2 separate regions of the Homo sapiens genome follow, and region 2 is linked to region 1. The links are contacts of gene promoters, found by promoter capture Hi-C in human tissues and cell types (Jung and others, 2019). All regions are on one chromosome and are shown on one strand. The core of a region is centred on a gene start or on the middle of the fragment in contact, and the rest is flanking DNA. Distances in the headings are between cores, read along the strand shown.

Evidence for each region. Contacts are between HindIII fragments. The study calls those that stand out against the background at their distance.
Region 2: a fragment that was not itself captured here is called in contact with the fragment with the promoter of KCTD17 in region 1 in 4 of the 25 tissues and cell types used here (IMR-90 fibroblasts, lymphoblastoid cells, spleen and 1 more).

What each region holds. Positions count from the first base shown.
Region 1 is chr22:37,050,041-37,053,677 of GRCh38, forward strand. KCTD17 (potassium channel tetramerization domain containing 17) reads left to right here and starts at 1,702. Exons shown (of 9, transcript NM_001282684.2): 1 at 1,702-1,909; 2 at 3,060-3,168. The coding sequence starts at 1,721. RefSeq lists silencers at 1,494-1,803, 1,814-1,933 and enhancers at 1,870-2,587, 2,588-3,304. The HindIII fragment of the contact is 12,846 bases long and covers 1-3,637 here.
Region 2 is chr22:37,130,838-37,134,474 of GRCh38, forward strand. It overlaps IL2RB (interleukin 2 receptor subunit beta), which reads right to left. Exons shown (of 10, transcript NM_000878.5): 9 at 1,547-1,631. Among named protein-coding and RNA genes, the nearest start is that of IL2RB, 17 kb to the right of the region's middle. The HindIII fragment of the contact is 9,461 bases long and covers 1-3,637 here.

The sequences.
Region 1 (3,637 bases), core at 452-2,951:
GAGTTCAAAACCAGCCTGGCCAACGTGGTGAAACCCTATCTCTACTAAAAATACAAAAATTAGCCAGGCGTGGTGGTGCATGCCTGTCATCCCAGCTACTCAGGAGGCTGAGGCATGAGAATTGCTTGAACCCAGAAGGCAGAGGTTGCAGTGAGCTGAGATGGTGCCACTGCACTCCAGTCTGGGTGAGAGAGTGAGACTGTATCTCAAAAAAGAAAAAGAGAGAGAGAGAGAGAGAGAGAGAGAGAGAGAGAGAGATAGGGGTCTCACTATGCTGTCCAGGCTGGTCTTGAACTTCTATGCTCAAGCGAGCCTTGGCCTCCCAAAGTGCTGGGATTACAGGTGTGAGCCACCGCACCCAGCCTACGCTAGATGTTTATAGACATTTCATAACTTAATCTTCACAGCAATGCTCTGGGGTCACAACTGTTGTAAATCCCATTTGGCAAGAGAGAAAGCCAATCTCAGAGAGGAAGTTGCTCAGGACACACCTAGTGAATTTTAAGTAGCAGGATTCCAGTACACCTTTGATCCACTCCCTGCCAAGGAGAAAAGCTTTATGCAGAAAGCAGGGCATTGGGTGGTAACAGGGAAACTTCTCCCAGCACAGGGCCAGGCTGCCCAGTGTTCGGGCCAGCTGCGTGTGACATTGGATCAGTGAGAGGAGCCCCAGACCTCTCCCCCATAGGCCAGGACCAGGACTGAAACCAGTAAGGAGAGGAAGCTAAGGAGACAGCTTCCTCGTCAGCCCTTGTCCCTCCCTGGTCCCGGACCACATGAGGAACTGCTCCCTTCCCCCATCCTGAGGTCCACAGAATGACGGTTCCCCTCCGAGTTAACTGGGGAATAACTCAGAAAGCCACCCGCAGAACCAATCCCTCCTCCTTCTTAGGGAGGACGTGGAAAAACTGAGAAAGGCCAAAAGCCAGAATGGAAACTCAGTTCTCCTGACTCGGATCCAGGGCGTGCTCTACTCTTCCTCCTTAGAAGTCTTTCCCAAGGATCCCTGACATTCCATGGTCAGGGAGCAGGAAAGAGACCTTGGTGGGTACTCACTCACCAGCAATGTGAGTAGGGCGGTCACTTCGCTTCTGTGGCTTCATCTGTAAAATGGGTATAGCCCAAAATACCAGACTCACAGGGCTGCTGAGAGCTTAAATTCATAACACATATACACAAAGTGTCTGGCATACAGGTGCTCAGCCAACCTCAAGTCCAGCTATGTCGTTCTCCAAGAACTCAGGTGAGGGAAAGAACCCACTCCCACCCACCCCGCCCCCACCCCTATACACACAAAGGGCAAATGAAAAAATATGACGAAACACATGCGGGTCAATGCTATGGGGATTCCTGGAGGGGAAAGTTTCTTCCCTTATCAGCTGTTGGACGACGGAGACGGCACAAAGGAAAAACAAGAATGCTCGGACCCATGGGATGACTGCAGATTTGGGGAAGCCCTCATTCTTTTCCCAGAGGCCGGGAGTTCGACCTTCCCCATACACAGTGATTTGGCCAGAGGGCATCTTCACCACCCCAGACTGCGGGCCTGCGGGGAAGGGCGAAGCGGGGCGGGACCGGGGGCGGGAGCAGCGCGGGGCGGGACCCTACCCGCGGCCCACGCGGAGCCAGGAGGCGCGGACTACAGCTCCCGGCCTGCCCCGCGTGCGGTCCCCGCCCGCCCCCAGCGCCCGGGAGGAGGATGCAGACGCCGCGGCCGGCGATGAGGATGGAGGCCGGGGAGGCAGCGCCGCCGGCGGGGGCGGGCGGCCGCGCCGCAGGCGGCTGGGGCAAGTGGGTGCGGCTCAACGTGGGGGGCACGGTGTTCCTGACCACCCGGCAGACGCTGTGCCGCGAGCAGAAGTCCTTCCTCAGCCGCCTGTGCCAGGGGGAAGAGCTGCAGTCGGACCGGGTGAGGCCCCCGGGGTGGGCGGCGAGCGGGCGGTGGGTCCTCCGCTCGCCCGACGCGGGGCTGTCGGGCCTGGCTCGCCCGCCAGGCTGGGGACCCGGCCGGGTTCATTTCCGAGGAACTGGAGGCGGGAAGAAGCGGCAGGAGGAGGGGAGGGGGAGGTGGGTCTGGTAGTGAGGGATGTACCCATTGCCGTGGCAACGGGACGACGCAGGCCGCGGCCATTAGAAGCTCTCCAGCCGCCCCGGATCGGGGCCTCTCCTTCTCCTTTGGGGCTGTGGACAGGGAGAGACCTGGGACCTTTCCTCCCTCCCAAAGGGGACTCCTGCTCTGGGGAAGGAGTCGACGAGGCTACTTCTCCCGCTCTTTGGGATGTGGGTGGCGGAGGGGTGCAGGGAGCTAGCTGGATGGAGGAGCCCTGGGGCGCCTTCTGAGCGGGCTGAATCTAGAAGGAGCGTTGGCCCAGCGGGCACTATTTCTGAGCACCCACCCTGACTCTGCTGCACACTGCCTGCCGCGACCTTGAGTCGGACCCTTCCCTGCACTGCGCTCAGCCTCCTTCCTCATCTGTAACACGAAGGGCTGGTCTGAAGATGACCTCTAAGGTCTCCTGTCCCCCATCCGTGACCCTCCGATGCTGTGGCCTTTGGCAAGTCGCCTCACCTCTCAATGTCTCCGATCTCTCTGTAGAGTCGCATGGAAGCCCACCCTGCCTCCCTGCCCGCCCGAGTGTCCAGTGAGATAGTGACTCCTTTGGAAACTTGTAAACATCCCCTGAAAGCCTAGGGACCTGGGGGCGACAGTGGGGCTGGCTTCAGGGGACAGCCTCTCAGAGGGACATTCTTCGAGCCCTGTGCTGGGCCAGTTGCCACTCAGACATCCTCTCACCGGATGCTCACAGCAAACCCTGATTAGGGGGAGAGGAGTGAGTTTCAAAGAGGCCAAATCATTAGCCTAAGGTCACACATTCAGGAAGAGTCAGAAGCAGGGCTTGAACTCAGGTCCATCTGACCCCAGTGCCTTTTTGCTACTTTGTGCCTGCTCCATCCAGGGAAGAGCTCTCCCTCCACTCTCCTTCCCTCCCTGTGCGTGTGCGGGGTTGGCTGGGGAGAAGCCTCACTCTTCTCTCACCGAGCATCCCTCACCTCCATAGGATGAGACCGGGGCCTACCTCATTGACCGTGACCCCACCTACTTCGGGCCCATCCTGAACTTCCTCCGGCATGGCAAGCTGGTGCTGGACAAGGACATGGCTGAGGAGGGTGAGTTGGTCCAGGGGGCTGGCCTGGACCTTATGCAGCCTGCCAGGGCCCTCTGTGGAGGCCCCAAGCCATTTGGACAACCAGGACGGCCATCTGCCTGCTTGGTTGTTTCCTGCCTCTTCCCAGTCGGACGGGGCTGATTCCCAAGCATCTGCCTGTGCCGAGCCTGGGGCTCTGCCAAGCGGACGGGCTCAAGCTTTCCCTGGGTACTGTCAGGGAGGTGAAGAGACACATGTGCAGGGGATAGAGGAAGTCAGCGAGGCCCTGTGGCCTCTGCTGTGGGCTGTGACGCCCTTTCTCTCTGGCCTCCTAGGAAGCCAGGTGTGGACGGTCACATCCGGAGGCTGGGGTGACAGGAATGCAGTGTTGACAGGCATGGGGAGAGCTCTGTCTCTCTTTCTCTGGCTGATCCAGTATCTCAAATTCTGCCTGGTGAGGGCTTGTAAGTGGGTGGAGCGGGTGACTGTTC
Region 2 (3,637 bases), core at 486-2,985, 81 kb after region 1:
AATTTTAAGGAAATACATTCCCGCACATTAAGAGTACTGCAACTAATGGCCAGGCACGGTGGCGCACGCCTGTAATCCCAGCACTTTGGGAGGCCGAGGCGGGCAGATCACCTGAGATCAGGAGTTCAAGACCAGCCTGGCCAACATGGCAAAACCCCGTCTCTATTAAAAGTACAAGAATTAGCCAAGTGTGGTGGTGTGTGCTTGTAGTCCCAGCTACTCGGGAGACTGAGGCAGGAGCATCGGTTGAACCCAGGAGGCAGAGTTTGCAGTGAGCTGAGGTCGTGCCATTGCACTCTAGCCTGGACGACAGAGCAAGACTCCATCTCAAAAAATAAATAAATAAATAAATAAATAAAAGCACTGCAACTAAGATATTCTCATCTTGGGAGTTTTCCAAGGAGTTCCAGAAGGGGCCCTTGATCAGCCCTGATAGAGAACTCCAAAGCCAGGTCATGACAGCTCTGGTCCGGCATGGCTTTCCTCCTCCGCCACTCTTCTTGACCTCCCTCTGCCCCTACCTCATCCCCACCCCCCAATCTTGGGAGCCTAGAGTGGGGCTAGGGTGGTAAAAAGTACCCCCCATGTCCCCCCTTCATTCTTGAAGCTTCCTGCCTGAAGGGGGCATGGGCTGGGGAAGAGGAGACGACGGAATCTGAGATGGAGTTTAGAGCGTTACTGATCTGCGGGCCGGCACTTTAAAAATGAATCGGTGTTTTGTGACTCAAAGTGACGGGAAGACTTGTTAGTATCCACGCTAAGTTATGGAGCCTGCTCAGGAATTTTGAGCAGGGACAGGAGAAGCACAGAGCATGTCTGCACAGACAGTGGGGTGGAGAGAGCTTGTGCTGGCAGGTCCTGTTCGTTCAGCACACCGGCAACGGTAATACCAGATAGGGTACTTTTTTTTTTTTTTTGAGATGGAGTCTCACTCTGTCGCCCAGGCTGGAGTGCAGTGGTGCCATCTCAGCTCACTGTAACCTCCGCCTCCTGGGTTCAAGCGATTCCCCTGTCTCAGCCTCCTGAGTAGCTGGGATTACAGGCATGCACCACCAGCCCGGCTAATTTTTGTATTTTTAGTAGAGACAGGGCTTCACCATGTTGGTCAGGCTGGTCTCGAACTCCTGACCTCGTGATCTACCTGCCACAGCCTCCCAAAGTGCTGGGATTACAGGCATGAACCACTGCACCCAGCCTGATAGGGTTCTTTTGAACACTAACTGCGTGCCAGGCAATGTACTCAGGGCAGGACACATAGTAACACTGTTTTTCTCCTCATCTAACAGGTGGGGAAACTGAGGCCCAGGGAGGCTCTATAGGCCCAAGGTCACACAGCCAGAATGTGGTGGAGCTGGGATTAGAACCCAGGCAGTCTGGCTCAGATGGAAAGTGCCAGAGCTGGAGAAGAGACCCATGCACACCCCGGAGGCTGCTCACTTCGGCGTTTTGTCTCCTCTCACAAAACACAAAATTAGCTACTAACCTGCCACCCCCTCATCCCACTCACACCCCTGCCCACCTCTGTCTCCCCGCCCCGGCCTCCTACCTGGACGTCTCCTCCATGCTCTGAGCTCAGCTGGGAAAAGAACTTCGAGGGGTCTGGGGTGTTACACTTCAGGACCTTCTTCAGCCTGGACAGAGGAGAGGAGGGAAGGAGGAGGGTGAGAAAGGGAAGGACCGCGGTGTTATGCCATCGGCACCACAGCTCTGGATGCCAGGCACGGAGCCGCACCACATTTACTTATGTATTTCTTCCGCCGATACTAAGTGTTCACTGTGGGAGGACGCTGTGTTGGGCACTGGGGAGACAAGAATGGCCAACAAAGGAGGTCCCTGCTCTCAAGGAGCTGACATTCTCATGGGGAGATGGACACAAAGCATGTTGCAACATCACCATTCATTCTGTGGAGACAGAGAGCACAGTGCTACACAAGACGGGGAGGTGGGGGTCGATGGGGGTGAACACACAAGCCAGAGTGGTCAGGGACGGAGATGGCTAGAAGAAGTGGAATGAACCAGGAGGCGGGAGAGAGGAGATGGGCTTTCTTGTCAGGGCTGCCATGGATGGTGGTTCAGGTTGTACACTGCCCAAGGGCATTAGGCTTGGGCAGGGAGTGGGAAAGGTGGTGGTGAGTGAGGCTGAATTCCAGCCCATGTTCTGCTTGCTAAGCTGAGTGCCTGGAAGCTGTGTACATCACCGTGAAGAAAGAGGCACCATTTTTGATTTGCCCAAAGGTTCCACACAGCTGGTGGAGGCCCTCAAGGGCCAGGGTGTACTGCAGCGCAGTGAGCGGCCTCTGAAGAGTGTTAAACAGGAGAATGACATGGTGGAGAAAGCACTGAAGGGGCGCAAGAACGACAAGGAGGAGGGCAGTCTGGAGGCCACTGAACCCATGCCTGGGAGAGGACCTCTCCCTCTACAGGGACATGGTTTCCCTGAAGGCCTGCAGGGAGCTGTGGGCGGAGGGGACGGGTGGGTGGAGGAATGCTTGTCTTCTTGGGAGGAAAGAGGAAACGGGGCTCCGAACACTGCCGAGAACCACTGCTCCAGGACGAGGGTCAGGAGAGCGGCAGTCACTCCTAACTGGCTATGTGACCTTGGGCAAGTCAGCTGACTTCTCTGGCCAGTCCTGGCATCAGTTAAAAGGCAATGGTAGCCCCTGACTCACTGCCTTCCCAGTGCTGGGGAAAGTCGAGTGAGGTGACACAGCTAGGCACGCTTTGCAAACCTCTTGGGAGAAGCAGGGCTCTCATCAGGGGGCCACAACCCCCGGTCAGAAGTGTCACCTCCTCACCGCTTTGCCCTCCACCAGGCCACGCTCCACACAGCAGCCAGGGCTACAGAGGGCGAAGTGGATCCTGTCCCACTTCTGGGGAAACCCTCCATGACTGCTCGGCACACGGCCCAGGTCCTCACCACAGCCTGAGGCCCCAGGAAGCATCACTGCCGCCACAGGCCCAGGCTCAAGTTCAGCCTCCTGCCCCACCCACTTCTGTCTCCAGCCACACCAGCGCCCCTGCACTCTGTTCCTGGAAGTTTCTTCCCTCCTGCCTGCCCAGGGCCTTTGCACATGCTGTTTCCTCTGCCTGGGACACTCTCCCCATCCCCTCCACACCCCCCATGGGCTCCCACTACAGATTTCAACAGAATCATCCCTTCCTCAGGGAAACCAGCCCTGGCCACGCCCCAGCCAAGTTTCCCCTCCCTGTTTTCTGCTCCTGATACAGTCAGCACTCAGGATCCGTGGGTTCTGCACTCACGGATTCAGCCAATCTCTGATCAAAAATATTCAGGAAAAAAAAACCCTCATAGCAATACAATAATAAAAAATAATACAAATTTTTAAAATACAGCATAACAACTATTTACATAGCATTTACATGGTATTAGGTATTATAAGTAATCTAGGAGATGACCTAAAGTCTCTGGGAGGGTGTGTGTAGGTTACACGCAAATATTCTGCTGTGTTAAATCAGGGACTTGAGGCCGGGCGTGGGGGCTCACACCTGTAATCTTAGCATTTTGGGAGGCCAAGGCGAGTGGATCACCTGAGGTCAGGAGTTTGAAACCAGCTTGGCCAACATGGTGAAACCCCGTCTGTACTAAAAATACAAAAACTTAGCAGAGCACGGTGGC